Linked DNA regions of Homo sapiens: regions 2, 3 and 4 are each linked to region 1. The links are contacts of gene promoters, found by promoter capture Hi-C in blood cells and fetal thymus (Javierre and others, 2016). All regions are on one chromosome and are shown on one strand. The core of a region is centred on a gene start or on the middle of the fragment in contact, and the rest is flanking DNA. Distances in the headings are between cores, read along the strand shown.

The links. Contacts are between HindIII fragments. The CHiCAGO score rates a contact against its expected background, and 5 or more counts as called.
Region 2: a fragment that was not itself captured here is called in contact with the fragment with the promoter of ST18-AS3 in region 1 in 1 of 17 cell types (total B cells); the score reaches 5.2 in total B cells.
Region 3: a fragment that was not itself captured here is called in contact with the fragment with the promoter of ST18-AS3 in region 1 in 1 of 17 cell types (naive B cells); the score reaches 6.7 in naive B cells.
Region 4: a fragment that was not itself captured here is called in contact with the fragment with the promoter of ST18-AS3 in region 1 in 1 of 17 cell types (naive B cells); the score reaches 6.3 in naive B cells.

What each region holds. Positions count from the first base shown.
Region 1 is chr8:52,192,788-52,195,946 of GRCh38, reverse strand. It overlaps ST18-AS3 (ST18 antisense RNA 3), which reads right to left and starts at 1,585. Exons shown (of 2, transcript NR_134310.1): 1 at 1,194-1,585. All of the region lies in intron 8 of ST18 (ST18 C2H2C-type zinc finger transcription factor), which reads left to right. The HindIII fragment of the contact is 4,332 bases long and covers 1-3,159 here.
Region 2 is chr8:52,428,320-52,431,478 of GRCh38, reverse strand. No RefSeq gene overlaps it. Among named protein-coding and RNA genes, the nearest start is that of ST18, 20 kb to the right of the region's middle. The HindIII fragment of the contact is 6,015 bases long and covers 1-3,159 here.
Region 3 is chr8:52,405,872-52,409,030 of GRCh38, reverse strand. All of the region lies in intron 2 of ST18 (ST18 C2H2C-type zinc finger transcription factor), which reads left to right. Among named protein-coding and RNA genes, the nearest start is that of ST18, 2.3 kb to the left of the region's middle. The HindIII fragment of the contact is 6,295 bases long and covers 1-3,159 here.
Region 4 is chr8:52,347,698-52,350,856 of GRCh38, reverse strand. All of the region lies in intron 2 of ST18 (ST18 C2H2C-type zinc finger transcription factor), which reads left to right. Among named protein-coding and RNA genes, the nearest start is that of ST18, 60 kb to the left of the region's middle. The HindIII fragment of the contact is 4,159 bases long and covers 1-3,159 here.

The sequences.
Region 1 (3,159 bases), core at 336-2,835:
ATGTGGTCTGATCACATGCTGAGATGATATATACAAATAAAGTACAATACTTGTATCCCCCATTATTGTGGCATTTCACAGCTCTTATTGTTTTACTTTATTTTTTGGTTAGAAATACAAACTTCAAGCAAAAAAAAGAGAATTTAGATTATTCACCAAGTTAGTTAAGGTAAAATTGAGGCACTTTAAACTCAATTCTATACATTTATTTAACTGGCATATGATTACCTTAGATGATTAAGGTGCTTCTGTTACTCAACCACATTTAATATTTTTTAGCAGATACAATCTATAATAAAACCCAGTACTTATCCAAGATCAATTAAGATGTTGCAATAATCTTCTTTAAAAGTTTTTTTAAGATTATTTTAAATATTCCTTCCTCAAATATAGTTATGATTTTGGTAAGGCAAATATTCATAAACTAAGTGAATTTTATTTTTATCTTTCTTTATGATCAAAATAAGATAATTTATGTTTAATTTTTCCTAATAGTTTTTAAGTTTTATAACACTGTTTGAAAAATAAATATAAAGTCACATATATTTTATTATATTATATACTCAAAAGAAAGTATTTTGAAGTATTACTCAAATTAAAATAACAGTGTGGGCTTTATTGAAGCCAAATTTACTAGCAAACAAAAATAGTAATAAATGTCTGTATCTGAATTCTTTCAGTATCTTGATTCTAAAATCCACATAATGTTCATCTCTTAGTATCTTCAATTTTCTAATTTTATCTTATTATATTCAACTTCTGCTCTTCCGGGTACATCCCTATGATCCATCATATTACGTTTTTGAAGAAGCCAGATCCTGTTTCTATATTGTATAGCTAATCCATGGCTATGCAGTAGCTGAACTGCTCTGTCAATCTCTGGGCACTTAAAAGGAGTTTGGGAGTGCCCAAATGATTTAACTAAAACATATTGTCTTTGAGTATAAATTGAAAGACATTTATTTATATTTTATATTGAATGGTATTTCAAATGTTGGTGTATAATTTTGTGTTTTAGCCGATGATTGAATAGTTGTTTCTTTAAAAACTTTGGTCCATGTGAGGATTAAATTATCTTTAAAATGATATGATTGTTCATGTTCTTGAAGAGTAGACTTTGGAACTGATCAGTTCATGATGTTGGAGTCATTCAGTCAATCTTTGTGTGGACCAGTTAGGGTTACTTGGCTCACCGGCTTCTGCTGGCTTACTTCTTGTCTCTTCTTTGACTGTCTTGCAAAAACACATCCTCAGTGGCGGGGAGCTGGGCAGAGAAGCCCACATGGATAAGGGAAGTTAGTCCCATCATCTGCACAGTAATGGGTGGTTGTTGATGGCTCTCCCGGAGGAAGGCAGTTCTCCAGATGCAAGACGCATGCTTTCACCAACATTCATCTTCATATGCTCACATCTGGGTGGGGCTCAACTTCAGTGGTCTTTCACTGAGCATGCTCCTAACACACAGACCTCATATTATGCACCAGAGATATAAAAAGGAGCAAGAAACAGTTTCTGTTCTCTTGTAGGTGTTTCCAGGTTACTGGGAAGATGATTATAGTGTAGAGAGATAAGGTTTATAATCAAGGTGAATGCCAAATGCCTTGCTGGCATAGAAGCAGTGTATTGTGACGCTGTCACTGGAATTACATCACAAAGGAAGGTCTATTCACCCAGTGTGAAGTGGCAGCTGGGGAACCCCACTTACCTACTATTACCTCACGATTCAGAGGAAATTTCCTGTTACTCCTCTCGTTGTTATTAAATTGTATCTTTTAATGGCTTGGTTATTTTATGAAAAAAATTCTGTGGTAGACGATATGCAATTAATTTATTATTTATAAAACTTAGTCCCAACTAAATGAGAAAAAAAAGCATTTATTAGCTTTGGCCTTACGGGAAAAAAAATTCTCCCCTTTTATAAACCTGACGTTATCAGATAACCTTGTCAATGGAATCAGTGTTCCATGACAGCAAACCAACCATCAATAAATAGCAACAACTTATTAGTCGCTGAATTTATGACATGAGTAATAGGAGAAGGCTTCAATTATAGGTTTAACTGTTGGACACACTGTAGCTCGGTAAACATGAGTGTGGTCACAAAGTTTCTAAGACATAGGTGAGAGAGTTGGCTCATGAAGTTCAGGGATTATCCTTACAGAATGAGCAATAGCTTCACAGTCCTCACTGGGTAAAAGTGAATTTGTCATTTACAGTGGCCCGTTAACTCTCTTAGGAATCACAAGGCCTATTTCAGATGAATGCACAAGACTGTAACTTTTCCCCAGGGTCCTGTCTCCTGATTTCCTAAAAATACAGTCCAGTTAGCCATGTACAGATTGTGTATCACGCAGCACAGCCTGCCAGGGAGCAGTACCTGTCAGATGTGAGGGAAGCGGGACTGGGCAGAGAGAAGTTGAATTGCAGTGCAGGTTCTATGGAAGGCTTAGCCAACTCTGCCAAGAGCTTTGGTGATAGATTCCTCTTCAGAGTCGGTCCTGCCTTGAGGCAAGTGTGAATATGGGCTGTCCCAGGGAGATGGGACTTTGGGTTAAATGGCTCTCAGGTTGAGGGCAATTTTCAGAAGTGAATTCAGCTAACGCCCATCAGCTCCCCACACTTTCAGCCAGTAGGGAAGATGTGTACCTTAGTCCTGAAGGGAGGAGGAGGTGCATACCATGGTATACACAGACATCTACACCTTTCCAGCTTGAATCCTTTTATACTTGCTTTGTATATTAACTTCATTATCTACCTATACTTCTACCCATTCCCTTCATCCTTGCCAAGTTCCTCTGCTGATCTAGACAGTTTACTTGGTTGCACGACTCAGATCCTTTGAGCCCTTGGTCACCATGACCTTCAGATTCTCTGCCTGCTAACCTGTTGATTTGCTGACAAGTTTGGGCCAGAAACAGTAAAGAGATACCCCAGTGGATCACTTGGGTGCTATATATATCCTGTCCCAATATGTAATAAGCCCCCAGCCCTACAACTTCCAGTGACCAGGGTCAGTGACTCCTGCCAGGACGGTATCTATTTTCCTTGCCTGTTATCTCTCAGCAACAAGAACCCAGGTGACAGAAAAGGAGTCTGAGCTCAAAGTTGAATAGGACTCTTTCTGTGTACCCTAGTGAAAGCATTCTCCCCTTGGGAACC
Region 2 (3,159 bases), core at 464-2,963, 240 kb before region 1:
CCTCCCAAAGTGCTGGGATTACAGACGTGAGCCACAGCGCCCGGCCAAATCTTTTAGTTTCTAGTGCCCCGGTGCCGGTGGGTAAAATCAACTCCTCTTTCTACACAGGAAGACATACCTACACATGCAGCTCCGATTCCAGCAATACGTTGTCACCTAGTTCAACCTTGGAGAGAAGTGGAGTGGTGGGAGTGGTGTATTTTCCAAGATTTCAAGTTTATTTTTAAGTTGAGCATGTCATAGTCATTGAATTTGGCCACTGCAACAGTAGAGATGGTGGTGTGTGTGTGTGCACGCGCGCACGTGCGTATGTGCGCACACATGATTCATGCATAACACAAAAGTGAAAAATGCTATTTCTAGCCAGCATTTCTGAGAGAGCATCTTGGAGCAGCTGTAGATCAAGCAGCACTCCAACATGATAGGATAGAATGCCTCCCTGACCTGCACTCCTCTGCAGACTGCTTGGCTCTGTGAGCCCGCTTCATTTATTTCCTGTTGAGGTTAAGTCTCATTCCAGTCAGCTTGTTCATCTAATTTTGTGTTAAGAGAATTATGTTTTCATGCCGAGGAAATAATGCATCTTTAAATTTACCTTTACAAGTAGCTTTCTGAGTTTTCTTTCAGCAGCTTGGCTGGAGCAGTCTCATAGAGCATGGATCCTATGGAAGAATATGAGAAAGAACAAAATACAGTGTTTGCATTTAAGTTTACTATCTATCTAGAGGTGGAAAAGTAAGATTTTTTTTTTCTTTTTGAGATGGAGTCTCGCTCTGTCCCCCAGGCTGGAGTGCAGTGGTGCGATCTCGGCTCACTGCAACCTCTGCCCCCCGGATTCAAGTGATTCTCCTGCCTCAGCCTCCTGAGTAGCTGGGATTACAGGCACACGCTGCCACACCCGGCTAATTTTTTGTATTTTTAGTAGAGACGGGGTTTCACCATACTGGCCAAGCTGGTCTCAAATTCCTGAACTCACGATCCACCTGCCTCAGCCTCCCACAGTGCTGGGATTACAGGCATGAGCCACCGTGCCTGGCCAAAAGTAAGGATTTTTAAAAGCAACTCTTGCTATAGTTGAAATAAATGAGATTACAAGTGGTTTTCTAGTTAATCCTGATGCAAGGAACATTTCTGATTAAAGATCCTGAGGATCCTAAGTAAGGGGTGGCATCACAGCATCATAGGTTTGAGAGCTGCAGCAATGAAAACATTTCATAGCTTATGCCAAAGGAGGTAAATGATACACAGCACACAATGGAACACCAGAAGTAGACATGGACTCAGAGGGGGAATTGTGAATATATTAAAAAGAGCATTTAAAATTCCTGGTGAAGAGATTGTTTATGCAATGACTTTGTAGATACTTGTGGAAAACAAATATTGATATCTACCTTTATATCAAAATAAATTCTTGCTCGACAAAATTTTTATTTGATAGGCACAGAAACAGACATGGGATGATCGCTCCTGATGTGTTCAGGGAATAATATGTAAATTAGTCAAGCTGTGCAGTGGGATCAGGTTGGCACAGCAGATAGAGGCCCATTTGTAAAGAATCTTGAATGCAGGGCTTGAGAGTTGAGACTTGGCAGGGTGTGGCAGTGGGGAGATTCGCATGGAATCGTCCTGGGTGGAGCTATGGTCTAGGAGGATGCTCATTCTTTTCACATGCTAACCTGGTGTATTACATTCTTATATAGTATTATGAAGCTCCTAAGTACACTGTGATTTTAGAGTCTTTTAGCTCTTCTAGGAGAGCCTTTCATTTGTCTATTTAACATATCAAGTGAATGAAAACTTGCCTAATGGAATGTTATATAAACAAAATGCTTATTGGTGTTGTTTTTAGTTTTCTAAAGATCAGACACGGTGCTTGATTTTTTTCTCGGTAGTCTACTAGTTCCTGAAGAAGAAGTTTCTCATTTTATTCATCTCTATATTTACACTGCTTGTTACAATGCCTGGCACATCCAACAAACATTTATAATCGCCTTCTGTGCCAAGACACGAGTGCAGGAACTTAGAAAACACTGATTAGCATTTATTTTCCTCCAAGTTTTGAAGTCTGACGCAGTCCCTGCCCTTAACAGAGCCTGTGGCCCAGCAGGGGAGACCAGCAACTCGGTGAGGATAACTCCGGGATGGAAAGGCTCGACAGTGCCATGGGAAAAAGTGCAGGAGGACTGACTTTGGTCCAGGGTGAGGATCAGCGAAGAGTTCCTAGAGGAAGCGTCCTATATTCTGTGTGCCAGTCATGCGGTTCCTAATTCTCAACTCCAATGCTGTCCTCAAGGATCTGGGATGCTGGAGAAGGAAATCTGCAAACCTCGTTTGTCCTCAGACAGAGGATCCCTGTTAGCATCTACCAATAGTGGGGCCTATAGGGAAGGTGGCCAGCAGAACAGAAAGCAGAGTCGTAAGCCATCCTGTCAGCATGCCCTGGTTGGTGGCCGTTAACATCTTTCTTTTCTGGGCATTCCTGAAATCACCCTCCTGCGTCCCCTAAGAGGTGAAGCATGCCCCTCCTCAGGTTTTCACTCTGCTCTGTGGGATCCTCCTTTTTCAAGGAAGCACCCAGCCCCATGCAGGGCCCCATCAGAGCTTCCCACACTGAGGCTTTGTTCCTCCAGCCCTGGGGCAGGGAAGCTGCTTTCCATAGGCCTGATCTCTGGGCTATTGCAGCTGTTCACTCTTTTATTCCTCTAAAGCCTGTGAAACTAGTTCCCTGTATTAAATTCCTTCTGCTAAAACACCTAGCATGTTTTTTTCTGTTTTTTTTTGTTTTTTTGTTTTTTTTTTTTTGAGACAGAGTCTTGCTGTGACCCAGGCTGGAGTGCAGTGGCGCATCTCGGCTCCCTGCAAGCTCCGCCTCCTGGGTTCACAACATTCTCCTGCCTCAGCCTCCCGAGTAGCTGAGACTACAGGCGCCCGCCACCACAGCTGGGTGCTTTTTTGTATTTCTTTTAGTAGAGACGGGGTTTCACCATGTTAGCCAGGATGGTCTCGATCTCCTGACCTCATGATCCGCCTGTCTTGGCCTCCCAAAGTGCTGGGATTACAGGCTTGAGCCACTGCTCCTGGCCTAGCATGTTTATGATTTGTGGATTGGAGCCACAATCTTTCAGGATGAAGAGTTAGCTGTGTTAATAGTGGGGTTTC
Region 3 (3,159 bases), core at 476-2,975, 210 kb before region 1:
TTTAATACTGCAAATGTTACTTGTACAGTAAGGAATTTCTTTTAGATTTATATTTGCACGGGGACTGACTCACTTTCTATTTAGGATTTTTAAAAACATCACTTTTTCTGTGCTCAGATGAGAAGTACATCTGTTGCTTTCACATAATAAGCATCAAATATGAAGACACGTTGAATGCTTGAACCATTTGTCGCTATAGGAGACCTGCAACATATGCATGCTATATGTCTGTTTACTGGAATACAGGCACTGAGGAATCAAACTTCATGGTTCTTTCTTTGAGCCATAAGATTTTTTAAAATCTCTAGCTAATTTAGGTCACTGAAAATGAACATTATTTTGGACTTTTGAATGGGTATTTTGAAGGAGGCTCAGAAGGACAAATACTGCATTGGTCACTACGCAGTACTTGGGATTGTAGATGAGTTTCTTGAGCAAAGCATAATAACCACTTTTATTTGTTGGTACAATATATACACATAACGTTAGCACTATGACAAGATTGTTCTTCCAGTTCACATAGAAATTAGCTGTTGATTCTCAGGGTTGTACAGTTTTCTGTCTCGTGACTGTGGGTTAAGGAAAGCACTTGTAACTGGGGGAGAGCAGACAGCGAGGCTCACAGTGGTGTTCCAGTCAGGAAGAGCTTCTGATTTTCCGGCAGTTGGTGAATACATTTATTGCACACAACTTGGAGCCTTGATCTTTCTAACTATTTCAGATAAATTGCTGTCAAATTAGCAGGAATGGTCCCTTCAGATAAACCTAAATAATTTATGCCAAAGTAGTGATTCTCTTGTAAGCTATGTTCAGGTGGTCAAGATAAAAATGACATTCCTAGCAACATGGTCCTACATTAAATTATTCATAGTCCTACATTAAATTAGTTTGATGTTATTCAAAAATAACATCATTTTTCTTACTGACTTTGTAACCAAACTTTTTAGGTGAGACAGCGTCCTTAGTTTGTGGCTTTGCAAGTTATCTGGGAAAACCTGTATTTCCAACACGAAATAAAAGTAAAAATAAAAAATTCCAAATTAAAAAAACCTTTGCTTTGATTATACCTTTAAACTATTTGAATTAAAATTCAGCTTTGTACATCACCACATAGGAAATCCAGGCCCTTGAGCAATGTATTGATGAATTGGGGTGGAAATGGAGGAGGATGGAAACGATGGCGGCACTGGACTGTTTTCCAGAAACCATTTACACAGGCTCACCAGAAGAGGGCAGCGCAGAGCAATGAACTCTCCGAGGAGTTTCCAAACAGATGTCTTGAAACTTAAAGTGAAAATCTCTGCATGAAAGTAGCCGTTTTTGGACAGCGTCCTCCACCAAAACCATATATCTCTAAAATAATAATAAAACTCCCCAAACATGCTAATCTCGAAATGGGTCCCTCAACATGGAAGGATTGAGTTGCAAGGGACAAAATTTTACTTCCCTGTCAGAGATGTTTTCACTTCGATTATCCTTTTGATTTATTTTATTATAAAAGACTATGTGAAGTCTAGTATTAGTCATGTGCACAAATATTCATTATGCAGCTTTTTGGGGTGATTTTTTTGATAAAAATATTGAAAAAATCACAAATTCAGATTCGTGGAAGATTCCCTACGCAACACAGCGTTTGAAGCAAAATGCAGCTTAAGGAAGTTTCCCATTAAATCCATATTTCCTTGATGCAAAATGATATCACATTGTTTTACTTGTTAATTTTTTTCTTCTCAGAATTACCACAGAAAATATTTTTTGTTTTATAATAAAACACGTGATACTCTACATTGGACATACATTTTACACTTGAAATCTGGAAAGAAAAACCTACTAGACTGGAACAGAATTCCAAAGAACGTGAGGGGACAAATCTATGGAGACATTTATATTTTGTTTTAGGGTTATTATAAAACTCTAGTTTCATCGTCTATGCATAAATGTTTAGGGGATCTAAATATCTTCACTAAATTTTATTCTGTAATCGGAAAGTTGGCATTTAAGATGATCATTCTTATAGGCTAATTAGGATGATAAAATCCTTTCCTCTTTTCAAAAGTTCACGAACGCATAACAAATTGGAACTACTTTTACAAGCCGAGTGTCCCTCTTATGCCATTAGCTTTCTTGGATTTACCTTCTAGATGACTTTGGCTCCTGTTAACTTCAGATCTTTGACATATCAAGTATGGTTGTTTTCAAAGGTTTCCCAGGCAACTGCAACAATTCATCTGGTTCTAGTCAAAAGTGCCCTTGAACTCTCAGCTCACTTCCCTTCCCTGTATGAGTAATGTGTGTAGCAAAAGGAAAAACACCAAAGACTTCATGTAATGGCTAATGTGAATGATTTGGTGAAGAGAGGAATGGATTTCACAAAAGGATCCACTTGGATGTTAAGACCTCAGCTGGCTGCCTGCGGGTTCCCTTTGTCAAGCTCTCATTTGCATTTAGGGGGAAGGCCACAACCCACATCATGTGTTCGGGGTTCTGTTTAACTCTTCCTCACAGTTCCTAGGGCCCCAAACTCTTACCCTAGGTGGCCCCAAGGACTCCTTCAAGGCCAGATCGCTGGCCCGCCAGGGAGTGACTGCCCCCAAATCTCTGAGAGATGCCTCAGGACTCCAGCTGACTCACACACACGCTGACCTGTGAGAATCATTCTGTGCTTCTTGTTTCTCACATAACCCACTGGGAAGCAATGGTTGGAGTCTTGTTGCATTTTACTTACAGGAAGAGTTTTATAATTACCTCCCAAGAAGTTCCTGAAGAACAGAGGAGGGAGTAATTGGAATCTCTGATCCTGTTGTTTGTGAAAGGTTCCTCTGCTTTACATTAATTACATTCTGTGTTGCGTTTAAAAGAAAAGATTTCACCTCATCTAGGCAGACAGTGCAGTTAGACCATCACCTTTTTTCCCCTTTATTTTGACTCTTGTCTTCACAGCTAATTTACTAGTGACTAAAATGATGGCAAATAAGGCAATATAATATGGACAGCCTGCAAATCCCACTCATGGAGCTCTGTAAGTGGGAGCAGATTGCTGTCTGAGTACAGGGCTTCTGCAGAAGTCTCCCTATCAACTCCACGTCGAACTCAAAGTCTAGAGAGCTTCAACAATTAATGATATGTCATCTGGATCCAGTCATAAAAGCATGATGACCA
Region 4 (3,159 bases), core at 252-2,751, 150 kb before region 1:
CCCAGCTACTCAAGAGGCTGAGGCAATCGAATTGCTTGAACCCGGGAGGCAGAGGTTGCAGTGAGCCAAGATTGGGCCACTGCACTTCAGCCTGGGCAACAGAGCGAGACTCCATCTCAAAAAAAAAAAAAAGTATATATATATCAAGTGACACGAGAGGTGAGTATTGTGATGAAAATGGCATAGAAGGATGACAGAAGTCCCGTGATCTTGCCTCCCCCACTTCCTGTCTGGGAACATACAGGGTTTGTTGTAGTCTGTCTCAAAACTTTGAAAACAAGTTTTCAAGAGTTAGAAAAGGATTGTTTGGTTTGCAGTTGCTGCTGTTTCCAAATGAAGGATGACTGTACCTCATTTCACATTAAAATAGGGATGGTACTTGAGTACCCTCTGATGTTTGGGGCCATGACCTACAATTTCCTAGCTGTGGGTGTCTCTGCTGTCTAAATCAGACCTTGCATATTTGTACACAGGAGATCACCAGAATCGTTTGTCTCAAGGTCAAACACGTCACAGAAGTGTATTTCCCCTCAGATTTTTGGGAAACAGTCTCTAGTGCTCTAATCCACTGTGTCCCTCTGTCCGTCATAGAATAGAAGGATTGGGATACCTAATAAGAGCTTCTAATGCAAGGAGTTATTTTTCATGAGCATAATGATTAATTAAGTTAGAACCTCAAAGGATATTTTAACCCACACACTTTGGGTTTTCTGTCTTGGGAGACCTGGATGGCTATTGTCCCTGGTCCCTCCATGCTCATCCCCACACTTCCCACCCTGCTCCCTCCTCAGACTTCAGGCCGGGTTCTGTGATGGGAGGTCCTGCGGGGTGTGGAACAGGAGGAAGGGCGTGGAGTTGCTGTGTTGAATTCCTGATCCCTCTGTTTCTCCCTGCACAGTTGCTGTCGGGACAAGTGTGCCTATCTCAAAAGCTCCAGCCCCTGCTAGGGGCTTTCCAGACAGTCCTCCTCCTTCCCCCTGACCCCCTACTCTCCCTCCTTGCTCTGCCTGGGATATTCCATGATTCCTCACTGATTCCCACATCCTGCTCACACCTTTGCAGTCTCTTTATATAACACTCCTCACATTACCCGGCTTGAGCGTGCCATCTGTTTCCCACCAGGACCCTGACTGATACACAGAAAACCTAGATTTGTGAGTTGAGCTACACATTTGTGCTAGAAATCAGAAATTTGTTTTGCTTTGTACCCTATAAGTCAGATTGGTTTCCACTCAGTATTCTCACACTTTTATATTTGTCCCAGAAAACAAAGTTGAATGACTACTTAGGTATAGGAAAAGATGATCATTTTGTTTCAATTTAAAAAGCATTACCCTATAATATGGAGTGAGGACCTATTTTTAGATGGCTGGGTGGGATGAGCTCAAACTCTATGCAACATCTTTGAGTAAGTTACATTAACAGAACGTCAGAGTAATACATTATCATATTTTATTGGTTAGCAGTAGGTTTAGCTGGGAGAAACAAAAACTTAAAATACAGTGATTAATAAAGGTAAAAAGGCATGTCTTAATCACACGAAGGTTAGAAGGTTGGCAGTTCAGGACAGTTATGGCAGCTTTACCCCACAAAGCCTTCAGGACACAGGCTGTCTACCACGTCTCCACCAGTGGGAAGGATAAAAGGCAAAGAAGAAGGGAAGGGAGAAAGAAGAAGGAGATATTGTCAAGGGCTGCAACATGGATGAACCTGGAGGACTTTGTGATCTCCAGATTTAACAAAAAACGAGCAAGGCATGGAAAGGCAAATACGGTACAGTCTCACTCATATGTGGAATCCAGAAGTGCAGAGGAGCATAGTGGTGACTAGAGAATGGTTGGGGCGTGGGGGTTGGGCATGGGGGAGATGTTGGTCAAAGGGTACAAAACTTCAGCTAGAAGAAATCAGTTTGAGAGATCTATTGTACAATATGGTATTGTAAATACATTGCATCCTTGGAAAATGCTAAGACAGTGGGTGTTGTGTTCCCAGAACACAAATGATAACTATATCTAATAATAATATGTTGATTAGCTAGATTTAGTCATTTCACAATGTATATATACTTCACAACTTCATACTGTACATGATAAATATATACAATTTTTTTTGAGGTGGAGTTTTGCATTTTTTTGCTCAGGCTGAAGTGCAATGGCACGATCTCGGCTCACTGCAACCTCTGCCTCCCGGGTTCAAGCAATTCTTCTACCTCAGCCTCCCGAGTAGCTGGGATTACAGGCGCACACCACCATGCCTAGATAATTTTGTATTTTTAGTAGATAGAGGGTTTCACCATGTTGGCCAGGCTGGTCTCGAACTCAGGTGATATGCCCGCCTCGGCTTCCCGAAGTGCTGGGATTACAGGCGTGAGCCACCGCACCCAGCTGAAATATACACAGTTTTATCTGTCAGATAAACATTTTTTTAAAAAATAGAAGAAGACAGGACAGTGGTGGGGCATGTCTGCTGTTTTGAACCAAGATGTTCAGAAGCTGCCGATGCTTGGGCTTTCTCTTGTTCAAAGCAAAGCCTCATGGTCTTCCTTAGTTCCAATGAGGCTGAAAGATGCAGTCCTTATCTGAGGCATCCACTTGCCTTGCTCTTAACTGTAGAACTGAGAGAACTGGGGTTTGTAAATCATTTCTATAAAGGATCAGATATAAAATATTTTAGGTTTTGTGAGCCACATGTGATACTTATTTCTCCTCTCCTTTTCCTCCCCTTCTTTCATCTCTTCCTTCCCTTTCCTCCACACTTAAAAAATGTGAAAACCAGTTCGTGAGCCACTCAAAACCAGGGTGTAGTCCACATCTGGCTCATGGACCATAGTTTGCCCACCTCAGTTTCTTCATCTGTAAAATGAAAAAAATGGTGGTACACATCTATATTTAAATATATATGGTCTTAATATATGTCTACATTAAGATTAAATCAACTCATCTAAAGAAATTGGATTAGTGCCTGGCACTCTGGAAACAGTCTGTGCTGCTGTGAGAAGGAAGTCTGCACTGATCAAGTGCACATGCTCAAAGCCAGAGGAGGTGGATTTGAATCCAGGCTCCACCATTTCCCCAGATGGGTTTCCCTGGGCAGTTTCTTTAACATCTCTGTGCCTCAGCTTCTTCATTTTTCTCTTTGAGTTGTTGTGGGAATTAATGC